Regions from separate parts of the Homo sapiens genome. Here regions 1, 2, 3 and 5 are each linked to region 4. Evidence: promoter capture Hi-C in 16 types of primary human blood cells and fetal thymus (Javierre and others, 2016). All regions are on one chromosome and are shown on one strand. The core of a region is centred on a gene start or on the middle of the fragment in contact, and the rest is flanking DNA. Distances in the headings are between cores, read along the strand shown.

Region 1 (3,644 bases), core at 99-2,598, 2.1 Mb before region 4:
CTAATTTTGCTTTAATATTCATATTTTCTTCTATTTTATTTGCATTGAACTTGCTCTTTCCTTTTTCTTAACATTATTGATTTTAAGTGTTTTTTATACATGCATGCAATATTATATACATTTGCCTTTAATTACTGGTTTTTCTGCATCCCAGAAATTTGATCAATTGTATATTCATTTTAATTCAGTTCAAAATATTTACAATTTCTCTCGAGATTTGTTTGTCCAATGTGTCATTTAGAAAACTGTCCTTTCATCTCCAAATATTTAGTATTTCCCAGCTATCTTTCTGTTACTGAGTTCCAGTTTAATTGCACTGTAGTCTGAGGGCATATATTATGTAAGTTCATTTTTTAAAAACTTAAGTTCATGGGTATATGTTCAGGTTTGTTAAACAGGTAAACATATGTCATGGAGGTTTATTGTGCAGATTATTTTATCACCCAGGCGTTAAGCTTAGTACCCATTAGTTATTCTTCCTAATCTTCTCGCTCCTTCTACTCTCCACCCTCCGATATGCCCCAATGGATGTTGTTCCCCAATGTGTCCATGTGTTCTCATCATTTAGCTACCACTTATAAGTGAGAACTTCCAGTATTTGGTTTTCTGTTCCTGCATTAGTTTGCTAAAGATAATGGCCTCTAGCTCTACCCATGTTCCTTCAAAGGACATGATCTTATTCCTTTTTATGACTGCATAGAATTCCACAGTATAAATGAACCACATTTTTCTCTATTCAGTCTATCATTAATGAACATGTAGGTTAATTCCATGTCTTTGCTATTGTGAATAGTGCTGCAATGTACATACATGTGCATGCATCTTAATAATAGAACAATTTATATTTCTTTGGGGAAATAGCCAGTAATGGGATTGCTGGCTCGAATGGTATTTCTGTCTTTATGTCTTTGAGGAATTACCACACTGTCTTCTACAATGGCTGAACTAATTTGCACCCCCACCAACAGTGTATTAGCATTTTTTTTCTCCACAACCTTACCAGCATCTGTTATTTTTTGAGTTTTTAATAACAGTCAGTCTGACTGGTGTGCGATGATATGTAATTGTGGTTTTTATTTGCATTTCTCTAAAAATCAGTGATGTTGAGTTCTTTTTTTCATATGCCTGTTGGCCACATGTATGTCGTCTTTTAAGAAGTGTCTGTTCATGTCTTTTGCCTACTGTAAATTTTTTTTTGCTTTCTTCTTGTACTTTAGTTTAATTTCCTCATAGATGCTGGATACTAGATTTTTGTCAGATGCATAGTTTGCAAAAATTTTCTCCCATTCTGTAGGCTGTCTGTTTACTTTGTTAATAGTTTCTTTTGCTATGTGGAAGCTCTTGTTTAATCAGATCTCATTTATCAATTTTTACTTTTGTTGCAATTGTTTTTGGTGTGTTTGTCATGAAACCTTTTCTTGTGCCCATGTCCTGAATTGTATTGCCTAGGTTGTCTTCCAGGGTTTTGGTAGTTTAGGGTTTTACTTTTAAGTCTTTAATTGATCTGGAGTTAATTTTTGTATAAGGTGTAAGGAAGAGGGGCAGTTTCAATGTTCTGCATATATCTAGCCAGTTATTCCAGCACCATTTATAGAAGAGCCAGTTATTCCAGTGCCGTTATTAGAGAATAATGCTTTCCCCATTGCTTGTTTTTGTCAGGTTTATCAAAGATCAGATGGTTGTAGGTGTGCGGGTTCTCTATTTTGTTCCACTGGTTTACGTGTCTGCTCTTGTACCAATACTAGGCTGTTTTGGTTAATGTAACCCTGTAGCTTGAAGTTAGGTAGCATGCTGCCTCCAGCTTTGTTCTTTTTGCTTAGGGTTGCCTTGACTATTTGGACTCATTTTTGGTTCCACATGAATTTTAAAATAGTGTTTTTCTAGCTCTGTGAAGAATGTCGATGGTAGTTTAATGAGAATAACATTGAATTTATAAATTGCTTTGAGCAGTATGGCCACTTGAATGATATTGATTCTTCCTATCCATGGTCACACAATGTTTTTCCATCTGTTTGTGTCATCTCTGATTTCTGTGAGCAGTGGTTTGTAATTCTCCTTATAGATATTTTACCTTATTAGTTAGCTGTATTCCCAGGTATTTTATTATTTTTGTGGCAATTGTGAATTGGAGGTTGTTCATGATTTGCCTCTAGCTTGACTGCTGTTTGTGTGTAGGAATGATAGAATTTTTGCACATTAATTTTGTATCCTGAGTGTTTGCTGAAGTTGTCTATCAGCTTAAGAAGCTTTGGGGGTGAGACAGTGGGGCTTTTAGATATAGGATCATGTTGTCTGCAAACAGCAACAGTTTGATTTCTCTCTCCCAATTTAAATGCCCTTTATTTCTCTATTGCCTGAATGTCTTGGCCAGGACTTCCAGTCCTATGTTAAATAGGAGTGGTGAGAGAGGGCCTTCTTGCCTTGTGCTGATTTTCAAAGGGAATGTTTCCAGCTTTTGCCTCTTCAGTATGATGTTGGCTGTGGGTTTGTCATAAATGGCTTTTATTATTCTGAGGTATGTTCCTTCAATATCTAGTTTATTGAGAGTTTTTAACATGAATGGATGTTGAATTTTATCGAAAGAATTTTCTGCAACTATTGAAATAGTCATGTGGTTTTTGCCTCTAGTTCTGTTTATGTGATGAATCACATTGATTGATTTGCAGATGTTGAACCAACCTTGTATCCTGGGGATGATGCTTACTTGATCATGATGACTAAGCTTTTTGATGTGCTGCTGGATTCAGTTTGCCAGTAATTTGTTGAGGACTTTTGCATTGATGTTCATCAAGGATATTGGCCTGGAGTTTTCTTTTTTTGTTGCGTCTCTGCCAGGTTTTGGTATCAGGATGATGCTGGCCTCATCGAATGAGTTAGGGAGGAGTGCCTCCTTTTCAATTTTTTGGAATAGTTCAGCAGGAATAGTACCAGTTCTTTGTACATCTGGTAGAATTCAGGTGTGAATCTGTCTGGTCTTGGACTTTGTTTGGTTGGTAGGCTATGTATTACTGCCTCAATTTCAAAACTTGTTTTTGGTCTATTTGGGGATTCCTTTTTTCCCCCCATCCCTTTATTTTGAGCCTATTCCCCTCCCTCTGGGAGCTCTATTCCAGGAAATTTTCAAAACTCTAGAGGTTCCAGTTGGGAGGTCCCACCCAGTGAGGAGAAAGGATCAGGGACCTGCTTAAGGAAGCAGTCTGACCACATTTTTGTAGAACTGTGATAGGGGATCCCTTCTGCCCCATTTCAGTTTGGACTCTCCAAAGCCCACAGGTTGGAATGTCATCCACATAACAAAGATGGTGGCCTGTCCCTCCCCATAGGAACTCTGTCCCAGGTAGGAGTGACACTGTTGCTGGTGTTTGGCTGGAATTTCACACCAGTGGGTCTAATCCTATGAGGCACTGTGGAAGTGGGGATCCAGACTGTCGCTGACCAGCCCATTGGATTCAGCCCCCTTCCTGGGGGTATGTACAAAGTTCCAACCTTCCACCTTGCCAGAGTTGCAGTCAGTTTTGCCTGGAAGCCAGGTGCTGGAGTATGTTAAGCTCCTGAGTCTCTGCGTGTGCCTGAGTGGCTACTCTGCCAAGACTCCAGGCAGCTGTGTGTGTCAGACTGAAGGCCCTGATGGAGTGGGTTCATGA
Region 2 (3,983 bases), core at 252-2,751, 2.1 Mb before region 4:
CCTTCCTATGGATGAAGACAGGTGCTATTCATCAAGACAATGGAGGAATGACCTCAAACTCATTTTGGAGAGCATCAGGTCTGTCACTTCTATCATAGGTCTAGAATTCCAAGGCCTGGGGGACAGAAAAATATCAAGAGAGACCTGAGGCCCCTACTGGCCTCCACACTCTCCTCCCTTTCCTGTACCACCACAAATCTCTGCTCCCTGCTTTCTGGCACACCAATATTCAACTGTCCCACGTGTGGTTCCAGTGGTCCCAGGCACAGTGGTGACACGAAGTCTATGGCTCTCCTTGGCTGGAATTTAACACAGGTGAGGGTCTTGAGGGTAGACCTGCTCCCAAACCTCCACTAGACATTTCCCTAGTGGGAGTTCTCTAAAGTGGCCCTGCCCCTGTGGCAGCTCTCTGCCTGGGCCCTGAGGCTGTCTGGGACATTTTTTGAAATCTAAGTGGAGGCAGCCATGCACCCACAGCTCTGCACTCTGTGCACTAGTGGAGATGGCATGGTGCAGTTGCCACCAACGTTTACTGCCTGCAGCCTGTAGAAGAGTGGCTCTGAATAGAGTGTTTTCTAATTAGCTCTATCCATTCATTACTTTTTCCTAGTTTTAGTTACACACTCTAATTCATTTATAGAAATTTTGACCTGATGTAGTTCCTAGTTCCTGAATTTAAAGTTCAATGGTCACCAGCACTTTCTTAGGATTTGTAAATAAACATCAGCAGATCATAATGCTCACTTTGTTATCCTCTGGGTAGCGACTGAGAAGGGAGAAGCAAATACAAATTTATGTATTCTGTTTTCCCGAGCTGGGCTATTGTATCTTAATTTTTTGCCCTATTCTTTGATGAGACATCATTATATAATGTCTAAGCTATCTGCCTTGGCTTTGAGTTTCTTTCTATTGAAAATAATTTCTGGGGTCATTTCCTCATACTTGGGCATTTGATATTTTATCTTTTTTCTGTTATATTCTGTCATTTGTCATTTGTTAAAGTTTCCAACAATATCAAAGTTATCTTCTTTAGACTTGGGCTTTTTCTTTTAGATTTCAAGACCTTTTTAGGGAGGCTTATTAAATCTAAATTGAGTTTGGGTCTGAATATTTAACTTCTTAATATAAACTGTGGGTGTGTTGTTTGATAGTCCTTCTAAATTAGATTTCTTCATCTTGGATATTGCTTTCATTTTAGAGAATATTTTTTAGAGCACAAATTCATCCTCTTACTAATTTAATTGGAATGCCTATATAATTGCATTCTATCCTTGTGGAAGTGTGAAAAATTGATACAAGTGTATTGCTAAAGTCACAGAACAGACTCACTGAGAAAATTGAAATAAATTAATCTCATGGTTTATCGAATTTATTGCAAACACACCGTAAGAATCAAGGGGAAAGAGAAGAAGGTAGGGTTACACACTTAGGATAGCATGCAAGCAGAGTAGAATGACCAAGCTACTTGAGTCTTGTTTTATGCAATGTACATATATCCTATCTCTTTCTGCTTCATCAGGTTTTCCTACTGATGGCAGGGATACAAGAACCAGAGTTAAGGTATAAAAAAAGGAAGTCAGCAGATAGAGGGGCCTGTAACCATAACACTCTTGTTCTTTTGAAGACACTCAGGAAGGTGCATGCCTGTAGCTGAGCCTTACGAATTGGCCAGATAAACAGTTACGGGTACTATATGGCAAAGGACAAACGAATGACGATGGGGCATCACTAATGGGTGGCTGGTTAAAAACTCCGTGATACTGAATGACTCATGTGGCTTGCATATTTACTGTATCATGAATATTTAATGTTTTATGTGCATAATTTGGGGTATCAAAGTTCCTCATATACTTAATGAATATCCCGATGACTTCTTAGTCCTTCCATCCTTCTTTTTTATGTTGACAACTAAAATTTATTTCATAATTTATGTGTAACTTTTCTCACAAGCTACTTGTCTGTATAGTTAGATTCATCCAACTGTCATATGTTTTGTTTCTTTTTTGTTTCATATATATGTTCTAGTTATTTTTAATGATAGAATTGAATACTATTAAATGTATACTGGATACATTTCACTACAACCTGCAGACTCTGCTCTTCTATTTCTATGTATGTATACAATGACAATCCCTACATAAGCCATCAATAGCAGTATTAGTCATAATAACCCAGAAGGGGAAAGAACCTGAAGGTCTGTGAAAAACAGAATGAATAAATTGCAGTGAAAACAAATGCATCATGGTTGCTTTCAACCACCAGGTTAAACTGCACAAACATAATGTTGAATGGATGAAACCACTAAACAAAATTAAAATTTGTGATTCCGTTTATATAAATGTCAGAAAGAGGAAAATCTAATTTACGGCACAGTGAGTTTGGCTAGTGTTTACTTTTGTAGGGGATTAGTGTCTAGAAGGAGGGAAACAAAGGGATATCTGGAATTCTGTGAATATTCTTTTTCTTGATCTGGGTATTGGCTTTGTGAGTATTTGGTTTGTAAGGAAAAAAAGACTACACACTTTTTTTACAGTTCTGATATTGCCTATATAATAAAATAAAATGCAAAATAAACATAATAAACAACATATGAAATATAATTAGTATGATTTTATTTCAAGAAAATATAGAGGGAAAAGACTGGAAGAAGACTGAACAAAACAAAAATTGACAAATGGTATCTAATTACACTAAAGCCTTTCTGCACAGCAAAAGAAACTATCAATGAAGTAAACACGCAACATACAGGATGGGAGAATATATTTCCAAACTATAGATTTTACAAAGGTTCAATATGCAGCATCCATAAGGAATTTAAACCAATTTACAAGAAAAAAAAAATTAAAAAGTGGGCAAATGAAAGCAACAGACACTTTTCAAAAGAAGACATACATATGGCCAACAGGCATATGAAAAAACGCTCAATATTAATAATTGTTAGAGGAATGCAAATCTAAACCACAGTAAGATGCCATCTCACACCATTTAGAATGGTTATTACTGAAAAGTCAAAACAAACAAACAAACAGATGTTAGTGAGACTGCAGAGAAAGGTAACATTTATACAATATTGGTGGGAGTATAAATTAGCTCAACCATTGTGGAAGGCAATGTGGTGATTCCTCAAAGAGCTAAAAACAGAACTACCATTCAAGCCAGCTATCCAATTACTGGGTAATACCCAGTAAGGAATATCAATTACCCTCTCATAGAATATCAATTATTCTATCATAGAGAAACATGCATGTGTGTGCTCACTGCATCACTGTTCACAATAGCAAAGACATGGAATCAACATAAATGCCCATAAATGGCAGACTGATCAAAGAAAATGTGGTACATATACACCATTGAATACTATGAATCCATAATAACAAACAAGATCATGTCTTTTGCAAGAACATGCATGGAGCTAGAGGACATTATCCTTAGCAAAGTAACACAGGAACAGGAAACCAAATACTGCATATTCTCATTTGTAAGTGGGAGCTCAATGATGAAACACATCGACACACAGAGGGCAACAACAAACACTGGGGCCTACCAGGTTGGAGGGTGGGAGTGGGAGAGAAGCAGAAAGAATAGCTATTGAGTACTAGGCTTGGTATCTGAGTAATTAAATGATCTGTACAACAGACTCCCATGACACAATTTTACCTATATAAAATCCAGCATATGTACCCTTGAACCTAAAAGTTTAAAAATAAATAAAATAAAATAAAGATAAAGTTAGAGGTTGAAAGGCCACAATTTTTTCAAATAATAAGGGCTCACTATTCAGATTATTAGCACTCTGGGAAATAAGGCCAGTAGGCATTTCAAAATTAAAATTTGAGGAAAAATGTTTGAAGTTTAATAAAAGATGTCACTGGAAAAAAATTTTCATATCAAAAAATAAAAATTTACCTATGATGCTTAATGGTTAAAATGCAGAAAAACACAATACTTACTTCCATAAATGATGCAAACGTTCCCTACAAATT
Region 3 (3,889 bases), core at 84-2,583, 2.2 Mb before region 4:
TTTTGTCAAGAATGTTTTTGTTTTGATTTTTGACGACTGATTGAATTTTAGTTTTTCCCAACCACTAAGGACAACATAATAATTATAAAACTAGTATTCAAACTTTAATAAATGTCTGTTAAATTATTTTCTATAGTAGTTTTTTATATATATACATTTATCTTGGGTAATTAGCACCTTTATAAATGTCAATTGTTTTAGATAGAAACATGGCACATCTTTCCTTTGTTCAAGTTTTAATTTAAATATTTTAGTACATTAATTTCCTTTATATAGCTAAAACATTTTGAAATATTTTGGTGTTTTTTGCATTCTTTTCAATAAAATTATTCCCTATTCATATTTTCTATTAAACTATTGCTTAAATATTTATGTTCCATAGACTTCTATCTTGTGGTAACTTACATCACAAATGTTTTTATTACATTTTCTTCTGTAGTGATCTAAGATTCTCAGACTTTCTACAAAATTCGATGTGCAGATATCTTATTTTTTATTGATAAGAGGTTCTTTAGAAATTAAATGATTAAGTTGTTCTTAATAATTCCCAATAAAAATATCTATTATAAAACAATATTAGCTTTATGTTGTTATGAGGCATTCCTTGTATTCTTAATAAAGACTCCTTAGATTTATTTTTTGAGTCCCTCTGTTCTTATAATTTATATATCCTGTCTCAGCATGTACTCTAATAAGTGCATGCTACATTTTAATAATACTTTTAGCCCTCTTGTTTATATTATGTATTCTTTCTCTCCTACTAAATAATTATTGCATTATTTAGGTAACTTTTACTTTAGTGGTGTAGCCTCATTATAGTTTTTTTAATTACCAATGTTATATCTATATTCATTCATAAGTAGTTTACAGGAATTGTTTTAAATTTTTATAATTGATTAATCAGCTTTGTAATAAACATTTTGCTAGTTTTATTCAATACATTATGAGTATTCTTTATGTTACTCCTGGAATAGTTTACTTAAGGATAGTGTGGTAATATGTTTATGAATCATCCATGCTAAAGATAATCTAAATTGTGAAGTTTTAATGTATTTCTTTGATATCTTTCAATTATTAACTATTAAGTATATTTTATTCACAGATTTTTGGACATTTCTATTTTTCTTTAGAAATGTGCCTATTTTATCAAGATGTTCAAAATTTAGAACATAGTGTTACTTTACTTTTAAAATTTCTATATATAGCACTACTGGTTTATTTCTTCTTATGTTCTCATACATATTTTTTCTAAGATCTTGTAATATTTTTGTAATTAAAAAAATAGCAATTTGTTTTTACATCCTCCTCTGCCTAAACACCCACAATGTTCTAACAAAATAAATCCACACTTGGTGTTTGCATTTAAGTTAGTTTTGAAAAATCAAGTTACAGTATTTATTTTTTCTTTCGCTACATTTTTTTTGTTTAATACATATAAATTACGCACTTTTAAAACTCTCACTCACATCACCACATGTAACCATGTGTAGAAAAACATAAATGTCCACATAAGTCACACTGGAGTCTAATTAAAATGATAGTCCTGTTATGATAGAGTAGTGCTCTTTACAGTAAATTATAGCATATGGTACAGGAAAGAAAAGGTGATTAATAGTACCTAATACTCTTTATAGTATACATATGCCCAGATACAGTCTTCCTCTTAAAATATATAGGTCCAATAATAATCTCTGTTGGTTATGAAGTGATAACTCCTTGTGGTTTTTGGACTTACATTTCCCTGATAGTGAGTGACATTGAGTACCTTTTCATAAACTCATTGGTCATTTGTATGTCTTTCTTTGAGAAATGTTTATTTAATTATTTAGTCTATTTTTAAATTGGTATGTTTGTTTTTATTCTATTGAATTATAGGACTTCTTTATATTTTTTAGGTATTAACCCCTTAGCAGATATATGATTTACAAATATTTTCTTCATTTTTATAGGTGAATTTCCATTTTGTTCATTTTTTCCTTTGAAGTGTAGAAAATGTTTTAGTTTGACATAGCTCCATTTGTGTGTGTTTGTTTTTGCTGTTTATGCTTTTGTTGTCATATCCAAGAAATCATTGTCAAGACCAATGTCAAGAAGATTTTCTCCTGTGTTTCCTTCTAGGAATTTTATTAATCCTTCACATATTATTGTTTAATTCATTTTAAGTTGATTTTTGTGTATGGTGTATGATGAGGGACCAATTACAAAAGATAACTTTTGTTTTTTTTAGACAGGGTCTTGCTCTGTTGCCCAGGCTGGTGTGCAGTGGCACAATCATAGGTCACTGCAGCCTCGACCTCCTGGCTCTAACGATCCCCCCACCTCAGCCTCCTGAGTACCTGGAACTACAGGTGTGCACTACCACACCTGGCTAATATTTTTATTTATTTATTTATTTTGTAGAGACAGAGTTTTACCATGTTTCTCAGGTTGGTCTCAAACTCCTGCACTCAAGAAATCTGCCCACCTCAACCTCCCAAAGTGCTGGGATTATAGGCATGAGCCACTGCACCTAGCCAGATAACAAATATTGTTGTGGATGTAGAGAAAAGGGAACCCTTATATACTGTTGATAGAAATGCAAATTGGTGCAACAACTATGGAAAAAAAGGATGGACGTTCCCCGCCAAATTATAAATGAAATTATTATATAATCTAGCAATCCCACTTCTGTATATACATTCAAGAAATTGAAATCACGATCTCAAAAAGATGTCTGCACTCCCATGTTCATTGCAGCATTATTCACGATAGGGAAAACATGAAAGCAACTGGAATGTTTATCAATGGATGAATGCAAAAAGAAAATACGGTATATACATACAATCGAATATTATTCAGTTTTTACAAAGAAGTAAATTCTACCACTCGCTACAACACGGATAAATCTGGAAGACATTATGCTGAGTGATATACACTGGAAAAAGAATGACAAATGCTACAAGATCCCATTTATATGAGAAAAATCTAAAATAATCAAACTCATAGAAGTAGAGGCTAGAATAGTGGTTTCCAGGGACTGAGGGGAGGGGGAAATGAAGATTTATTAGCCAAAGATTAAAAAGTTGCAGTTACACAAAAAGAGTAAGCCCTGGAGATCTATTGTATTGCATAGAGTCTATAGTTAACAATATCATTTGTATACTTAAAAATGTGCCCAGAGGCTAGATGTTATGTTAAATGTCCTTATCACTGTAATAATAACAACAATAACTGAAGAGTGTGGGAGAAAACTTTTGGAGGTAATGTATAAGTTTATGGCATAGATTGTGGTAATGATTTTACATATGCATACTTATCTCCAAACTTATCAAGCTGCATATAATAAATATTTATGTCTTTTTGTGTCAATCATACATTATTAAGGTGGTTTTAAAAATTAAAATAAAATATCTAAGTCCAAATTCATGCATTTAAATTTGTAAACATAAATAATATAGGTATATTTCTAAATATCAAAAATTCACTATTACTATTCACAGTGAATTAATATTAATAAATAAAATTCACTATTATTTAAATTTATTATCTAAATCTCTAAAATTCACTGTTATCCAGATTGATTCCCTATTATCCAGTTTGCCAATTCCTAAGTTATTCAGAAACAGATCTACTTCTATTTTTTCCTGAAATATCCAGATGTTGCAAGAAAACCTAAGTCTTTGCCATGAACCATCAATGCACTTGGACCTGTGCATACCGCAACATAAAATCTTTTAACAGATGCTTTTCCTCAGCTTTGTAGATTTTTCTTATTTGGATGCAAAGTATTACACATCCGGTTATAGAAGTGAGTCTTTCCTTTTGATTACAGGAAAAAATGTAAATGAAAAGAGATATTGGCTTTATGCCTTTATTTCTTGTACCATAAAATTATTTATTCATTAATATA
Region 4 (3,602 bases), core at 431-2,930:
CATTCTATGTTAAATTTTTCTGATGACTACCAGTTTCAACACTAAACCACAAAAGGAAAAAAGATATAGTGCAGGGAAAAGCATTGTTGAAGAATAAATATTCTATAATGAACTGTTCACTCCATGTATCAAAAGCAGAACTGAAATGTTACCTAGCCATCATTTGATCAGTTCTAACAGGTTCACCTTGCATTCTATCTTTAAAATCCTTAGGCTGGGCGCAGTGGCTTGCACCTGCAATCCTAGCACTTTGGGAGGCCGAGGAAAGAGGATTACTTGAGCCCAGGAGCACAGGAGATCAGCCTGAGGGCAATATAGTGAGGGCTTGTCTTTCAAAAAAAAAAAACCTTAAAAAAAAAGTAGCCAAGTGGTGGCACACGCCTAGCAGGAGGCTCGCTTGAGCCTAGGAGGTGGAGGTTGCACTGAGCCAAGATCATGCCACTGCACTCCAGGCTAGGCAACAGAGCAAGAATGTTTCTAAATAAATAAATACATAAAATAAAATCCTTAAGCCAATCTTCATTTACCAACCAATTTTTAATTCTTTTATTTGTTACCACATTGTCTCTCCTGAATATCCAAAGGCTCAAAGCCTTGGTTTGAATGCAGCTAAATTCATTGGGTTTGATCTCAAGTCAAACTTAGAAATACTGTCATCTCAGCCACAAATTTCACACTAAAGTAGATAGAAACCACTACTAAATCACTACTTTGTCTTAAAATGAAAGTATAATAGACTGTAAGGTTATAATTGCTTTTTTAAGTTAAACTTTGTTTTACATTTACAGAAAATTTGCAAAAATGGAGTCCCCACACCCCCTTCATCCAATTTCCCCTACCATTAATATCTTACAATACCATGGTATATCTGTCACAATAAAGAAATCGGTATTGGCACTATTACCTAAATTCCACACTTTGTTCAGATTCGCTAGTTTTCCATTAATGTCCTTTTTCTGCTGGAGATCCCAGCCAGGATACCACATTACATTTAATCATTATGCATCATTTTCTCTGGCATAATAGTTTCTCAGACTTTTCTTGTTTTTGAGTAGTGATTAGGTAATTTGTAAAATGCTAACCAGCGATCTCAGCTCACCATAACTTCCGCCTCTCGGGCTCAAGAGATTCTCCCACCTCAACCTCCCGAGTAGCCGGGACTACAGGCGTTCACCACCACACCAGGCTAATTTTTGTATTTTTAGTAGAAACGGGGTTTCGCCATGTTAGCCAGGCTGGTCTCCAACTCCTAACCTCAAGTGATCCGCCCGCCTCGGCCTCCCAAAGTGCTGGGATCACAGACGTGAGCCACCGCGTTCGGCCCCTTTTTCTAATATTGTCTAAAATAAGTATCCTAAACAGGAAATACCAAAAAAATCCCCCTCGCTTTCGTGACCTACACCGGTAAGCGTCAGGATCTTTCGCTATGCGAGAACCTTTTGGCTCTCGTATGTGCGCATGCGTCTGGATCCGGAGCCAGGTGACCCGCTCAGACGTGGACCATGTGCGGGGGAGGGGGGAAAGGAGCCGCGAAGGGGGTGGTAGACGGAACAGGTGGAGCCGCGGCGGGGCTAGGCGGGGCGGGGAGTGAAACAGCATAGGCTCCGCCCCTCGCGGCGCTTCCCCCGGAATAGCGTCATCAGTTCTATAAGAGAGCGTGTGCCGAAGGCCTCGGCCTTTCACATTCGGGAAGCGTCGGGATTAGGTGAAAGTACGTAGTTGTCTTTCGTAAGTTAAAATGATAATTGGGCCGAAACTTACTGCCTTACCTAAAAGGCAGCGCAGTCAGGATATTGGTAGGTCGGGGGCGGCTTTGGAAACCCTTAAGTTTACAAGCATGCGCGGACTTGAGTGCTCATTAGGTCGCCGGGCGTCCACGTGCAGCCCTGGACCCTGAACCCCGGCGTGCGTGGGCCGTGGGCCCTCGGGGAAAGGTTCCGTGCACTCGGGGACTCCGGTGAAGCCTGTTCAGCCGTCTGTGTCATGTGGCCATCTTGAGTCTACTCTGTCGCTCTTGTGCCCTAGCACCCCGAGAACCGTCAGTTTGAGCCAGATGGTGAGTAATAACCTGTAGCAGTTTGGTTGCTGGTTAATTCTGGATTGTGAATCTCCATGTATCTTTGGGACCTGTCAGCCGTGGCAGTCTCCCTTCCTAGCCATGGAAGAGCATATCCTTGTTTATTGGCAAAGCTGTCACCATTTAATTGGTATCAGATTCTGACTTGCACAAGTAACATTCACTGTTAAAAACCTAGAGGGTGCCGGGTTATTGGGCAAAATTTCTAAACCGTTGTTCAATGTTTCTAGGAAGCTGAGCTGAACACATTACGATGGATGATGGAAACATAAGGTACATTTCTTTTTTGATATTTCTGAGTTAATCTGAAACGCCTTAGCGGCAGGACGTTGGAAAGCTAAAGTTGGCCCGTTTTGCTGGCTTTTGTAGTTTGAGTTAACAACCAACTGAATTAGCTGATAAGATCTCAAAACAGTGAGGTAAGTACACAGCTCGGAGTTTTATAATGCTTTTTTTCTCTTGCAGACTATCAAGAAATCCAAGTGGTAATGGGCGAAGTTTATTCAGCATCCGGCAATGGACTTATCGTAGTTGGGGAAACGGGTGTTCCGAATAATATCCTGGAAGTTATCAGGACACCTATTTTAAATATAGGCCTGAATTTTGTAAAGTAATATTTAAGGTGGTCCGTGATAATTAAATAAAATGCTTAATTCATGTGGCTACTCATTGTTCCTTGACTGAGTGATTAATAGACGGAAAGGTAGTTAATAGCATAATACCTCCTATTTAGTGTTACACGCTCATGTGGAAGTAGTGTGAGTACAGTTCTAAGGTAATTGCAGCCTTTGTGAAAAATGTAAAATATAAAAATTACCAGGCTACCCCCAAGGGAGACAGCAGACTCTTTTTAAACCATACAAAAATTTAAGGCAGTTATACAAGGTGGAAAATTATGTATTTATTTACACAAATATGCACAGAACACTTGTATCTTTCAAAAGTCACACTTAAGACATAGTAAAAGCATGTTGTATGAACCATGTATTCTTAAGGATTGAGCAAACTGCAGGCTGCTTGCTGCCTTTTAGGTTTGCTAGTCCCTGATCTACTTGAAACAGATGTTGCTTGCCCCAACACTAGTTTAATTATAAGGGCAGCCTGTGAGAAAGTTTCAATAGACATTTTTCTCACCTATATTGCACGTTTTTCTGAAGCCCTTGTGCAAGTGTGTGTGCCATGTGTAGTTCTATTTACATATAAACGCTACTTTAAAAGTTTATCAAAATCATGAGTTTTTACAAAAGTTTTTAATGCTCTTCTGCATTATATGCAGCATTGCAAATCTGCAAAGTAGTAAAACTATAAAGCACCTTTAGGTTTGCACCAGTTATTACAGAAATGGGGATTTGTGAAAAGGATGTAATTTGATGTAGAAGGGCAAAGTCCTTTAATGACTGGCATTCAAGAGGATTACTTAAAACAATTTGTAAGTTCATGCTAACCTCTTCCCTATATTTATACTACTGGGACCTGGGGAAGGATCCATGACATGGAAGTATCTTGAGTGTGCCTTTTAAATTTG
Region 5 (3,857 bases), core at 317-2,816, 2.2 Mb before region 4:
CACCCCCAAAAGATCACACGAGCCCACCAGCAATGGATCCAAACCAAGAAGAAATCTCTGCATTTCCAGAAAAAGAATTCAGAAGGTCAATTATTAAGCTACTCAAGGAGGAACCAGAGAAACATAAATACCAACTTAAAGAAATTTAAAAAAAATGATGGAGGATATGGATGGAAAAGTATCCAGAGAAATAAATAGCATGAATAAAAACATCACAATTTCTGGAAATAAAGTACATTTAGAGAAATGCAAAATACACCGGAAAGTCCCAGCAATAGAGTTGAACAAGTAGAAGAAAGGACTTAAGAGCTTGAAGAAAAGGCGTTCAAATTAACCAAATCCAACAAAGACAAATAAATAAATTAAAAACAATGAACAAAACTTCCAGGAAGTTTGGGACTGTGTTAAATGACCAAATATAAGGATAATTAGCCTTCCTTAGGGAGAAGAGAAATCTAAAAGTTTGGAAAACATATTTGAAGGAATAATTGAGGAAAACTTCCCTGGTCTTGCTAGAGATCTAGACATCCAACTACAACAAGGTCAAAAACACCCCAGAAATTCCTTGCAAAAGATAATCACCTAGCACATAGTCATCAGGTTATCTAAAGTCAAGACGAAAGAAATAATTTTAAGAGCTGCAACACAAGAGCATCAGATAACCTAAAAAGGAAAGCCTATCAGATGAACAGCAGATTTCTCAGCAGAAACCCTACAAGCTAGAAAGGATTAGGGTCCTATCTTTAGCCTCCTTAAACAAAACAATTATCATCCAAGAATTTTCTATCCAGCAAAACTAAGCTTCACAAATAGACACTCTAACGTCATACCTCCTCAAGGAACTAGAGAAATAAAAACAAATCAAACCCAAACTCAACTGAAGAAAAGAAACAACAAAGATCAGAGCAGAACTACATGAAATTGAAACAAAAAAACACCAAAGATAAATGAAACAAAAAGCTGGTTCTTTGAAAAGTTAAACAAAATTGATAGATCATTAGCAAGATTAAAAAAAGAAAAGAAGAGACTGTAAACACAGCACTTTGGGAGGCTGAGGCCAGGAGATCGAGACCATTCTGGCTAACACGGTGAAACTTTATCTGTATTAAAAATACAAAAAATTAGCTGGGCATGGTGGCCGGAGCCTGTAGTTGCAGCTACGCGGGAGGCTGAGGCAGGAGAATGGCGTGAACCCGGAAGGCGGGAGCTTGCAGTGAGCCTAGATCGCGCCACTGCACTCCAGCCTGGGCAACAGAGTGAGACTCCACCCACCACCCCTACCCTCCACAAAAAAAAAAAAAAAAAAAAAAAAGAGAAAAGAAAAGAAGAGAGAAGATCCAAATAAGCTCAATTAGAAATAAAATGATAAATATTACAATCGATACCACAGAAATACAAAAGATCATTCAAGCCTTCTATGAAGGCCATTACGCAGACAAACTAGAAAACCAAGAGGAGACAGATAGATTCCTGGAAATATACAACACCCCTAGATTAAACCAGGAAGAAATAGAAGCGGAACAGACCAATAACAAGCAGTGATATTAAAATGGTAATTTAAAAATTGTCAGCAAAAAAAAGTCCAGGACCAGATGGATTCACTGCTGAATTCTATCGGACATTCAAAGAGGAATTGGTACCAATCCCATTGACACAATTCCAAAAGATAGAGAAAGAGGGAATCCTCCCTATGTCATTCTGTGAAGCCAGTATCACCCTAATACCAAAACCATGAAAGTACATAACAAAAAAAGAAAACTACAGACCAATGTTCCTAATTAACATAGATGCAAAAATCCTCAACACAATACTAGCTAACTGAATCCAACAGCATATCAAAAAGATAATCCAGTCCTGGGCTCAAGTGATCCTCCCTCATCGGCCTCTCAAAATGCTGGGATTACAGGCATGAGCTACCATGCCTCTTCCTCTAGTAATAAATTTAACCAAAGAAGTAAAAGATCTCTACAATAAAAAGTACAAAAAAATGATTAAAAATGGAAGAAGGCACTAATAAATGAAAAAATGCCACATTTATAAATTGAAAAATATAATATTGTTAAAGTGTTCATACTATACAATAGACATTGAATCTACATTTATTACAATCCATATCAAAATACCAATGACATTTTTTACAGAATTAGAATGAAAATCCTAAAATTTTCATGGAACCACAAAATACATTGAATTGTCAAAGCAATATTAAGCAAAAAGAACAGAATTGGAGGCATCACACTATATATTACAAAGCTATAATTACCAATACAAAGTTATGTTACAAAGTGTATTACAAAGCTACAGTAATACACTTTACTTCAAAATATATTGTAAAGCTTATAGTAACCAAAAAAACTTGTATTTATATAAAAATCGACACATAGTCTAAAAGAACAGAATAGACATCCCAGAAATAAGTCCACATATTCACAACCAACTGATTTTTGACAAAGGTGCCAAGAACATACATTGAAGAAAGTCTTTTTAATAAATGGTTCTGGGAAAACTGGATATCCACATGCAGAAGAATAAAACTAGATCTCTCCCTCTCACCACTTAATAAAATAAAATCAAAATGCATTATAGATCTAAAGGTAAGACTCAAAATTATGAAACTACTAGAAGAAAACACTGAAGAAATGCTTCATGTCATTGGTGGGGACAATGATTGCTTTGAGTAAGACTTCAAACAGCACAGGTAACAAAAGCAAAAATAGGCAAATGAAATTACATCAAACTAAAAAGCTCCACAATGAAGAGACAATCTAAAGAATAGAGAAAATATTCAAAATCTGAGTATCTGACAATAAGTTAATCTTCAGAATATGTAAGGAACCTAGACAACACAATAGCAAAATCAATAATAATCTAATATAAAATTAAAAATATATCTGAATAATTTTCTCAAAAAAAAGTACAGCTGACCAGCAGGCACATTTTAAAAAGTGCTCAACATTGCTAGTCATCTGGGGAATGCAAATGATAACCACAATGAGACATCACCACACCCTAGTTGAATGACTATCATAAAAAAACAGGCAAATGCTGGTGATGCTATGGAGAAAAAGGAACTCTTCTAAACTGTTTGTGGGAATATAAAGTAGTACAACCATTGTGGACAATAGTATGAAAATTCTTCACAAAACTAAAAGTAGAACTACCATATGATCTAGCTACCACACTACTAGATATATCCAAAGGAAATTAAATCAGTATGTCACAGAGATATCTACATTTCCATGTTTATTGCAGCCCTGTTCTCAATAGCCAGGATATGGAATCAGCCTAAGTGTGCATAAAAGGATGAATGAATTTTTAAAATGTGGTATATATAAATATACAGAATGTTATATTATTCAGCCATCAAAAATAATGAAATCATGTTATTTGCAACAAAATAGATAAACTTAGAGGACATTTTGTTAAATGAAGTAAGCCAAGGACAGGAGGACAAATACTGCATAATCTTACTTACATGTGCAATCTAAAAAAGTTGATCTAATGGAAGTAGAGAGTAGTATCGTGGTTACCAGAGGCTGGGGAGAATAGAGGAGAAGGGGGTATGAGGAGAAGTTGATCAATAGGTACAAAGTTATAGTTAGATTGGAAGAATAAATTTTGATGCTGGATTGCGTAGTAGAGTGAACATAGTCAACAATAACATATTGTTATTTCAACATAGCCAGAAAAAGGGTCTTGAATGCTCTCACCACAAAGAAATGACAAGTGTTTGAGGTGACGGATCTGCTAATTACCCTGACTGGATCATTACACAATGAAAATATGAATTGCAACATCACACTTTACTCCATAATTAGGCACAATTGTTATTTGTCAATTGAAAACAAAATGAAATG

The links. Contacts are between HindIII fragments. The CHiCAGO score rates a contact against its expected background, and 5 or more counts as called.
Region 1: a contact is called between a fragment that was not itself captured here and the fragment with the promoter of SNHG8 in region 4, in 1 of 17 cell types (M2 macrophages). The highest score is 6.3, in M2 macrophages.
Region 2: a contact is called between a fragment that was not itself captured here and the fragment with the promoter of SNHG8 in region 4, in 4 of 17 cell types (megakaryocytes, M0 macrophages, M2 macrophages and 1 more). The highest score is 11.1, in megakaryocytes.
Region 3: a contact is called between a fragment that was not itself captured here and the fragment with the promoter of SNHG8 in region 4, in 3 of 17 cell types (M2 macrophages, fetal thymus and M0 macrophages). The highest score is 11.8, in M2 macrophages.
Region 5: a contact is called between a fragment that was not itself captured here and the fragment with the promoter of SNHG8 in region 4, in 2 of 17 cell types (M2 macrophages and endothelial precursors). The highest score is 6.5, in M2 macrophages.

Annotation. Positions count from the first base shown.
Region 1 is chr4:116,163,450-116,167,093 of GRCh38, forward strand. No RefSeq gene overlaps it. Among named protein-coding and RNA genes, the nearest start is that of MIR1973, 130 kb to the right of the region's middle. The HindIII fragment of the contact is 1,791 bases long and covers 454-2,244 here.
Region 2 is chr4:116,185,739-116,189,721 of GRCh38, forward strand. No RefSeq gene overlaps it. Among named protein-coding and RNA genes, the nearest start is that of MIR1973, 110 kb to the right of the region's middle. The HindIII fragment of the contact is 5,449 bases long and covers 1-3,983 here.
Region 3 is chr4:116,049,305-116,053,193 of GRCh38, forward strand. No RefSeq gene overlaps it. Among named protein-coding and RNA genes, the nearest start is that of MIR1973, 250 kb to the right of the region's middle. The HindIII fragment of the contact is 7,629 bases long and covers 1-3,889 here.
Region 4 is chr4:118,277,082-118,280,683 of GRCh38, forward strand. SNHG8 (small nucleolar RNA host gene 8) reads left to right here and starts at 1,681. Exons shown (of 3, transcript NR_034011.1): 1 at 1,681-1,711; 2 at 2,308-2,350; 3 at 2,543-2,742. SNORA24 (small nucleolar RNA, H/ACA box 24) reads left to right here and starts at 2,109; the gene lies at 2,109-2,239. PRSS12 (serine protease 12) reads right to left here. Exons shown (of 13, transcript NM_003619.4): 13 at 2,957-3,602. RefSeq lists an enhancer at 1,209-1,388 and a silencer at 1,459-1,508. The HindIII fragment of the contact is 13,799 bases long and covers 1-3,602 here.
Region 5 is chr4:116,067,481-116,071,337 of GRCh38, forward strand. No RefSeq gene overlaps it. Among named protein-coding and RNA genes, the nearest start is that of MIR1973, 230 kb to the right of the region's middle. The HindIII fragment of the contact is 1,535 bases long and covers 800-2,334 here.